3 separate regions of the Homo sapiens genome follow, and regions 1 and 3 are each linked to region 2. Evidence: promoter capture Hi-C in human tissues and cell types (Jung and others, 2019). All regions are on one chromosome and are shown on one strand. Each heading gives the region's core, a stretch centred on a gene start or on the middle of the fragment in contact. The rest is flanking DNA. Distances are from core to core; before and after follow the strand shown. Region 1 has its middle 86 kb from the start of LINC02565. Region 2 holds the start of ONECUT2 (one cut homeobox 2). Region 3 has its middle 75 kb from the start of ST8SIA3.

Region 1 (2,732 bases), core at 161-2,660, 180 kb before region 2:
AGGGTAAGGACTTCTCTCAAAAAAAGAGAGAAAATTTGGCAACAATGCGAGACTCTTTCTCAAAAAAATAAATAAAGAGAGAGAGAGAGAAAATTTAAACACAGAGACATGTACAGTGGGAGGGTGAGATGAAGACACAAGAAGAGGCCATATACAAGCTAAGGAACACCTGAGGCTACCAAAAGCTAGGAGATAAGATATAACACATTCTCTCTCACAGCCCTCAGAAAAATCAATCCTGCTGACACCTTGACTTTGTCAAGCCTCAGAACTGTGAGACAATAAGTTTCTGATGTTTAAACCACACAGGTTGTGGTTATCTTGTATGGCAACCTCCAGGAAGGTAACACATAGTTGGATGTGTACAAGTCAAATGTACCTTTGATGAGACTCACCAGAAATACCTTCCTTGTAGAGTTTTTGTGAGGCTCAAATGAGCTAATGTGTATGAAGTGCTCAGTTCTACACCTAGGACTTATTAAATACTCTGTGAGCTCTTACACCATTCATTCAGGTAAAGAGCCATGAGACCTTTGGTGTCAGTCCTCACTGAGTGGGTAGGTAAGGGACAGCTCTCTGGGCCTCAGTTTTCTTCTGGGCAAAATCAAAGTTTGGACATGTCCCTTTCCTTCTAGCCCCGATGCTCTGTACATCCACAACACTTGGAGCTACAGGACATCAGGCAGGATGCTACATGTGAACTTGACCTTGAATGGGGCACCAGGGCACCACCTCTGTAAATATTTCAGGATCATTCTGTGCTGGGCCAGAGGCTGACATATAGTGACCTCCTTGGGCTTGTTTTACAGAAACTAACAAATCAAAAGGACAAAACTCAGTGTCTTGAAATTGATGCCTAATACCTCTCCCTTTCCCATCTGTTCACTACCATTGTTTCACTTCTCTGGTTTGTGATGTCTATAGAGAAAGTTCTTTTTTCTACTGATTTATATCTTTTTTTCTTCAAATAGAAAATATGACTTCTACTGTCTTCTAAAAAGTATTCAGCTAAGTGAGGTTGAAGCATTGGAGTCCCTTCCCCTAAGAGAATCCTCACTGCATACCCTGAATCACCATGTTCTAATTCCTATGACTTGTCCTCACAAACCTTTGGACCTAAGCAGAGCCAGGTTCATCATTAGCTGGGCCCATGGCAGGATGAAAATGTGGGGCCCTGGCCAGGGGTGGGGAATTCAGTTTCCCCTTCCCATAGGTCTGGCTCTTCACCCACTGGAAATAGGCAGTCTCCAAAGGACTGCAATTTCTGCCCTTGGACATGCTCAGTATCTGAACTGGAGTTGAATGAGAGGTCCCAGCTGAGCCATCTGCCAAATGCAGGTGGCCCTTCCAGCCACGATGAGGATGGCTGCTACCCCAGATGCTGCAGGGCACACACCTGCTTTCTGCCCTCTCTGCACCCACACTTAGGCCCTGCCAGAGGAAACACCCAGATGATGGCTGGCAGTGGTTGAGAGGAGGGGAGAGGGAAAGGGAGCAGGAGGCTGGGCAGGGCCTGAGATGCTAGGGGACTGGGGAATGTGCAGTAAGAACCAGTCCAGGAGAGGCAGAGAGGCCATGGGAAGTGGTCTTGTGCTGGACTGAGGCTCCAAGTCCCCAGCATGTGCTCCATTATTCCACTGGACAAATTCCAAGACAAAACAATTAAGAATTTCAAGACTTGGCAACCGCAGATCATCAACTCCCAAACATGAGTCCTTTCTGAGTGCAGAGCCCTGTGGGATGCATGGCTGAATGTCTTAACATACCCATTGTTCAAAACAAAGGCAGGGAGGTGCAGGCATGAGTTTTGGAGGTGGGGCAGGCTTCAGTTCAAACTCTGATTCTCCTGCTTCCACCCTGGGTGATCTGAAGATGGGGATCAAGTGCATACCAAGATGGCTGGCCCATAATAAGGGCTCAGGAAGAGGTAGCTGTTACTGATAGAGGGCTGGGTGATATAGTTTGGATATTTGTCCCTCCAAATCTCATGTAAAATATTGATCCCCAATGTTGGCGGTGGGGCCTAGTGGGAGGTGTTTAGGTCATGGTGGTAGATCCCTCATGAATGGCTTCACACCATCCTTGCAGTAATGAGTGAGTTCTTGCTCTGTTCGTTACTACGAGATCTGATGGTTAAACAGTCTGGCACCTCCTTCCCTTCTTTTCTCTTGCTACCTCTCTTTGTCATATGACCCACCTGCTCCCCGTTTGCCTTCCCACCATGAGTAACAGCTTCCTGAGGCCTCACCAGAAGCTGAGAAGATGCTGGTGCCATGCTTGTACAACCTGCAGAACTGTGAACGAAATAAATCTATTTATAAATTACCCAGCCTCAGGTATTCCCTTATGGCAGCACAAAATGGACTAACACACTAGGTTTCCAACAACTATGCTTCAGGAGCCAGATGCAGTCCTACAGGATGCGTGAATATGGTAGGAATCCAGGAAAATGAGAGAAGAGAAATTTAGACAGACACAGAGGAAAGACTACACAGAGACCAGCTTATAATGGGCTGGAAAGATCAAAGGATACCATGTTCCTGTTTAGTGAGCAGGGAAGTAAAATAGCTGTGGGTATCACTTGTCAAGAGACACTTTACTTTGGTCTCTGAAAATGAAAAAATAGACATCGCTAGGGGTTGGGGGATGGAGATAGGGAAAATGACAAGAAATAATCCATCATTTGGAGAAAATTAAGCTTATCTGTGGGTTTACATATCCATTTGAATATA
Region 2 (2,755 bases), core at 15-2,514:
AACTACCCCTCCACCCCGACTCGGACTGCAGAAATCTCCAACTCTCTGTCCCCCAGTTCCACTCCCACCTCCAGACCTGGGGTTGCCAAACAACGGAAATTCTAGGAAGACGTAGGTGCGGTTTTTAAAGCCTTGGCTTGTGAGCGTTCTCAGGCTGGCCGGGGCGCTGGTCTTTTCAGAAACAAGGTTTGAATATGCAGGTGTCAGCCAGGATTCCTTGTCGTCTGCCCACCGCCGTTTCTCTCCCGGGATTTGAGAGAAGCGGGAGTGTGTGTGTGTGTGTGTGTGTGTGTGTGTGCGCGTGTGTGTGTCTCGTGTTAGGAGAAAGGTCCGTGGTTGCCGTCTCAGCTGGTTTGCTTACTCTCTGCCCCCAGGAGAAGTTTGCTCACTTGGGACACCAGCGACCCTCCTCACCTCCACCTCACCGGTTCTACACTCTCCCCACTTCTTTCCAAGTCGCTGATGCAGAAAGCACTTGGTCACCTTGAAACGGCAGCTCCCGGAATTCTAGTTTTGTTTTGCAATCTAGCAGGGCTCTTCGGAAGCCTCATAACTGAGATTTATGGGCTCACCGGGTAATTAAATGATGTTATTGTGTTAACTTTGCATGCATTACTGCTGCCCGCGCCGCCCGTGGGCCGCCGGCCGGCCGCAGCTCGCTGGCGACGAGGGCACTACAGTTGCTCTGACCGCGTAGATTATGCATGTCCCGGCCTCGGGAATTTACCATGCATTAGAATACATTAGCGCCTGCATTTTAAAAGGCTAAACTATTGGCTCCCAGCTAGGGACTCTCGGTAAGTGGCTTGTTAGTGACGAGTGTTTGTCTATACTGGCACATAGCGGAGTCTTTTGCTCCCGGCTTACTCGCCTCCAGGAAAGCTTTGGGGTGAGGCGAAGGCGATTGAAGCAATGCCCCTTCCCCCAGATCGCAGCTGCTCAGGGGGGACACAGCACGGCATCTTTCACCGAATCTCTCTCGCTCGCTCGCACTCCAGCCTCCCTCTCCCCAGCGACCCCCCCACCTTCTCCTCCCTCCCTCTCCTTGACGTTTGATTCCAGTAGCAAAGGAGGTAAAAAAGGCACCGAGCCGTCAGCCAAACCTGAAAAGTGCGGCCCCGCCCCCTCCACAGCCACTGGTAGCTTCCCGTGGAAGGCCCGCCTCCCGGGGCAGCTGCGGCCTCGGAGTGGTTGCGCTTGGCGCCCGTCGGGCGTGGCCCCGCCCCAGGTCCGGGAGGGTAGGTTGGCTGCCCCGGCGAGCGGCAGAGCCCTTCTGGACAGCTCCCGCTCACCCAAACAGAAGACGTCGGCGCCGGAGCGGGCTCGGACATGGCGAGGCTGCGAGCCGGCCCGAGCGGCGGGGCCCGGTGATCCCTCCCTCCCTCCCCGTCCCCTCCCCTCTCCCGCACGCACGCCCCGTCCGCCCCCACCCCGCCCCCACCCCGGGCGAGCCCGCCCGCAGCCCGGGGCGCACACCCGCACGCGCACTCCTCTCCACTCACTCCCGCGCCCGCCCCCACTCCCGCAGCCGAGCCCCGCCACGCGCGCCTTGCCCGCCCGCCGGCCGCCCCCGCCGCCCCCGCCGCCCCCGGGCCCTGATGGACTGAATGAAGGCTGCCTACACCGCCTATCGATGCCTCACCAAAGACCTAGAAGGCTGCGCCATGAACCCGGAGCTGACAATGGAAAGTCTGGGCACTTTGCACGGGCCGGCCGGCGGCGGCAGTGGCGGGGGCGGCGGCGGGGGCGGCGGGGGCGGCGGCGGGGGCCCGGGCCATGAGCAGGAGCTGCTGGCCAGCCCCAGCCCCCACCACGCGGGCCGCGGCGCCGCTGGCTCGCTGCGGGGCCCTCCGCCGCCTCCAACCGCGCACCAGGAGCTGGGCACGGCGGCAGCGGCGGCAGCGGCGGCGTCGCGCTCGGCCATGGTCACCAGCATGGCCTCGATCCTGGACGGCGGCGACTACCGGCCCGAGCTCTCCATCCCGCTGCACCACGCCATGAGCATGTCCTGCGACTCGTCTCCGCCTGGCATGGGCATGAGCAACACCTACACCACGCTGACACCGCTCCAGCCGCTGCCACCCATCTCCACCGTGTCTGACAAGTTCCACCACCCTCACCCGCACCACCATCCGCACCACCACCACCACCACCACCACCAGCGCCTGTCCGGCAACGTCAGCGGCAGCTTCACCCTCATGCGCGACGAGCGCGGGCTCCCGGCCATGAACAACCTCTACAGTCCCTACAAGGAGATGCCCGGCATGAGCCAGAGCCTGTCCCCGCTGGCCGCCACGCCGCTGGGCAACGGGCTAGGCGGCCTCCACAACGCGCAGCAGAGTCTGCCCAACTACGGTCCGCCGGGCCACGACAAAATGCTCAGCCCCAACTTCGACGCGCACCACACTGCCATGCTGACCCGCGGTGAGCAACACCTGTCCCGCGGCCTGGGCACCCCACCTGCGGCCATGATGTCGCACCTGAACGGCCTGCACCACCCGGGCCACACTCAGTCTCACGGGCCGGTGCTGGCACCCAGTCGCGAGCGGCCACCCTCGTCCTCATCGGGCTCGCAGGTGGCCACGTCGGGCCAGCTGGAAGAAATCAACACCAAAGAGGTGGCCCAGCGCATCACAGCGGAGCTGAAGCGCTACAGTATCCCCCAGGCGATCTTTGCGCAGAGGGTGCTGTGCCGGTCTCAGGGGACTCTCTCCGACCTGCTCCGGAATCCAAAACCGTGGAGTAAACTCAAATC
Region 3 (2,819 bases), core at 177-2,676, 160 kb before region 2:
AGGAACCAGAAGAGATTATTTAAACAACCCTTTCCAGTTTAGTATTCCCTAATTCCATGATGCTTTTGAAAGGAATGCCTGTTTAAAGTCTCCTTTAACTGGAGGATTTAAGACTTGGGATTCAGATGCTGCTTCTCAGGAAGTGGATTTGGAACCAAGACCTAGGCTTCTAAAGTTGGTCAATGAGCAGAAGAACCAAGGGCAACTGACAGACAGTAAACATCTTTTAGAGTAATTTAAAGCAATTATCATAAAACTTCTGATTCATCAGAGATCCAGCCCACCAACAATAAGATTTTTAAAAGGAATTTGAGGCTGTTCTGCTGTTTAACATGAAATACGAGACAGAAATTGGTGTCACGGTCTATGTCCTTGTTACTACAAATAAGCAGGTACATTTCTCTCAAAATATCCAAGGCTTTTGTTGTAGAGCCAAAATTGATCAAAGGTTACTGCAATCTAAAAACAAAAGAAAGAAAGGGAGAGAGAATTCTCCAGTTGCCCGGTTGCTAAGCAACCCTAGTCTGTTCTGGTAACTGGGTCTGGGGGTCTTTGCTTTCATTTGCTGCTGACTTTCACTCCATATATAATATATACCAGCATGTTTATTCTCCTGTAAATGCCCAGCAAATAAAAAGCGATAAAGCCCTTTCACTGAAATTATTCATGTGCTAAAAGCTTTTATCCACATCACTGGTGTGACTGACAATATCATACCAGCAAGCTTCCAGAATTAGTTCTTGTTCTGGCATTGTACTCCTGGGCTTTCTTTCTTTAATAAAAGAAAAAGAGCTACAGTTTGATTTAAGCTTTCTATAGTCTGGCATTACAGCTCTTCAGTACCAATGATTAAGATGTCATGTCTATTCCAGGCACATTTATTCTTCTAGTGGCTGTCAACTTTCTAGAGAAACTACCTTTTACATGATTTTTTCCCCTTTAAAAACTTTGGTTTGCCCCTAGGACTAATCTGCAAGAGAGAATTTGAAAGAGTTACTTGTCCATTCTGGGAGCTTTTTAAGGAAATCTGAATGGCATACAATACCCTCAGCACAGTTTCTCAAAGTGTGTACAAATGATCACTTATGTCAGAATCAATATTCAGGGGTCAGGCCTGGGAATCTGATTTTCTCAACCGTCACCCATCATGCTCTCCTTCTCATCAGGCGATTTTGATGCATGCCTAAATTTGAGCATTTCTAACTGAAAGAATGCCTAACTGCCTAAGTGGTTTTATTTGCACAAGTTAATCAATCCTGGCAAATCTGTATTTTAAAATCAGAGATGGGGGTGGTGTCTCTTCAGGCAAAGGCTTCAGGGTCCCTCAGAAATGACTGACTCTTAGAACTAACACTGTAGGCACTGGCGAGCAGACTGGCCCCCTCTTGCCAGGGAAGGATGGCCTCCCACTAGACAGAAGCCTGACAGTAAAGATGGTCACACATGTGAGGCCTGGCTGAAGGCCACACACACCGAAGGGGAAAGCTTGCTGGTGAACTGTGTTGCTGGCCCAACCCCTTTCCCCTTTTCCTTTAACTAAAGATTTTACTTTGACACTAAAGATTAGTACCCAAAAGTATATGTAGCGGGTACAAATTTTCTAAGTCACAAATTCAAGTATGAGAAAGTATCACTTTTTTCCCCTCTAACAGGATTTGATTTCTCTCTCAGTACCTTATTTCTACCAGATGGCCAGAAACATAGTCTTATTAATTCAGGGAAAATACTGTCGAATTTGGTGATATCTAAACCATTTCAGGTTTAAAACTCAGTCCCATTGAGGATTTCCCACCCTCTCTTGTGCCTTCCTGGAGTTGATCCTACACTCCAGGAAAGGAGGGAGCAGGCCTTGTGCAATGTTGCTGTGGTCCCAGTAGAAGCGAGTGTGGAGGGCCTCTCTCTCTCTCTCTCTCTCTCTCTCTCTCTCTCTCTCTCTCTCTCTCTCTTTCTCTCTCTCTCTCTCTGCCTCTCTCTCAGCCTTTGCAGCTATCATGGGTGGCTCATCCTCCCTGGTTCTGGCCACAGGAAGATCCTTTGCAGGCTGGCCAGCTCTCATTCTCCCACAGAGAACCCAGAGTTTAAGCCGATGTCCTCCTCTCCACATACCTTCTCCCACCCTGATGGTTTGGGGAACTTGTCTATGACCCTTGCAGGGTCCCCAGATGTTGTCTTGGAAGTTAGTCACACGAGTCCTCTCCACTCTCAGATTTCCAAATTTTAAAAGGAGTTTCAAGAAGAAGGAAGAGTCAGGTGCCCTGCCCTGAGCCTAACTCCCTGTCTTCTTTCTCATCAATTTCTTCTTCCCTCCTCCAACCTAAAGTTTCCACCTCCTTCTTGGGGTGAACAATGGGGAAACAGGTGGCTCATATCAGAAGCTGAGCTCTTAGAAGAATAAATCTAAAAAAAGATAGGGATGGAAATGGTGAGGGGTAAGTAAAGGAATTGCAGGAATAAAAATGACCACCTGCAAAAGTTAGCCCTTCCCATCTCATCACACCACATGTACACTAGGTCCCTGGCACTTCATTTATTAGGCAAAATGAAAATATACTGTCAACAAAAATACCTTTAAGTTTACTAAGACTTTTGGTTAAGATGGAGCTCCTTGGTTAAATATCCAATAAGGTGCCTCTGCAGTAGATTTCAAAGTCTTTTTTATCTTGCTGTCAAGCTGTAGCAGTCATGGGGACTTTTGAAATAGCCTCCTGATTGATTGATTGTACTACCATGGTTACATGGGACAAAACTCCATCTGCAAGTGACTCAAGCTAAAGAGAGGAAATTACCAAGCTGCATAATGGAGACATGTGGAGGTTTCA

What was found. The method cuts DNA at HindIII sites, captures the fragments that hold promoters and counts their contacts. A contact is called where the count stands out against the background at its distance.
Region 1: a fragment that was not itself captured here is called in contact with the fragment with the promoter of ONECUT2 in region 2 in 2 of the 25 tissues and cell types used here (H1 embryonic stem cells and mesendoderm cells).
Region 3: a fragment that was not itself captured here is called in contact with the fragment with the promoter of ONECUT2 in region 2 in 1 of the 25 tissues and cell types used here (liver).

What each region holds. Positions count from the first base shown.
Region 1 is chr18:57,255,482-57,258,213 of GRCh38, forward strand. No RefSeq gene overlaps it. Among named protein-coding and RNA genes, the nearest start is that of LINC02565, 86 kb to the left of the region's middle. The HindIII fragment of the contact is 5,857 bases long and covers 1-2,732 here.
Region 2 is chr18:57,434,110-57,436,864 of GRCh38, forward strand. ONECUT2 (one cut homeobox 2) reads left to right here and starts at 1,265. Exons shown (of 2, transcript NM_004852.3): 1 at 1,265-2,755. The coding sequence starts at 1,608. RefSeq lists enhancers at 1-571, 572-1,151 and a silencer at 1,145-1,194. The HindIII fragment of the contact is 18,346 bases long and covers 1-2,755 here.
Region 3 is chr18:57,276,398-57,279,216 of GRCh38, forward strand. No RefSeq gene overlaps it. Among named protein-coding and RNA genes, the nearest start is that of ST8SIA3, 75 kb to the right of the region's middle. The HindIII fragment of the contact is 4,391 bases long and covers 1-2,819 here.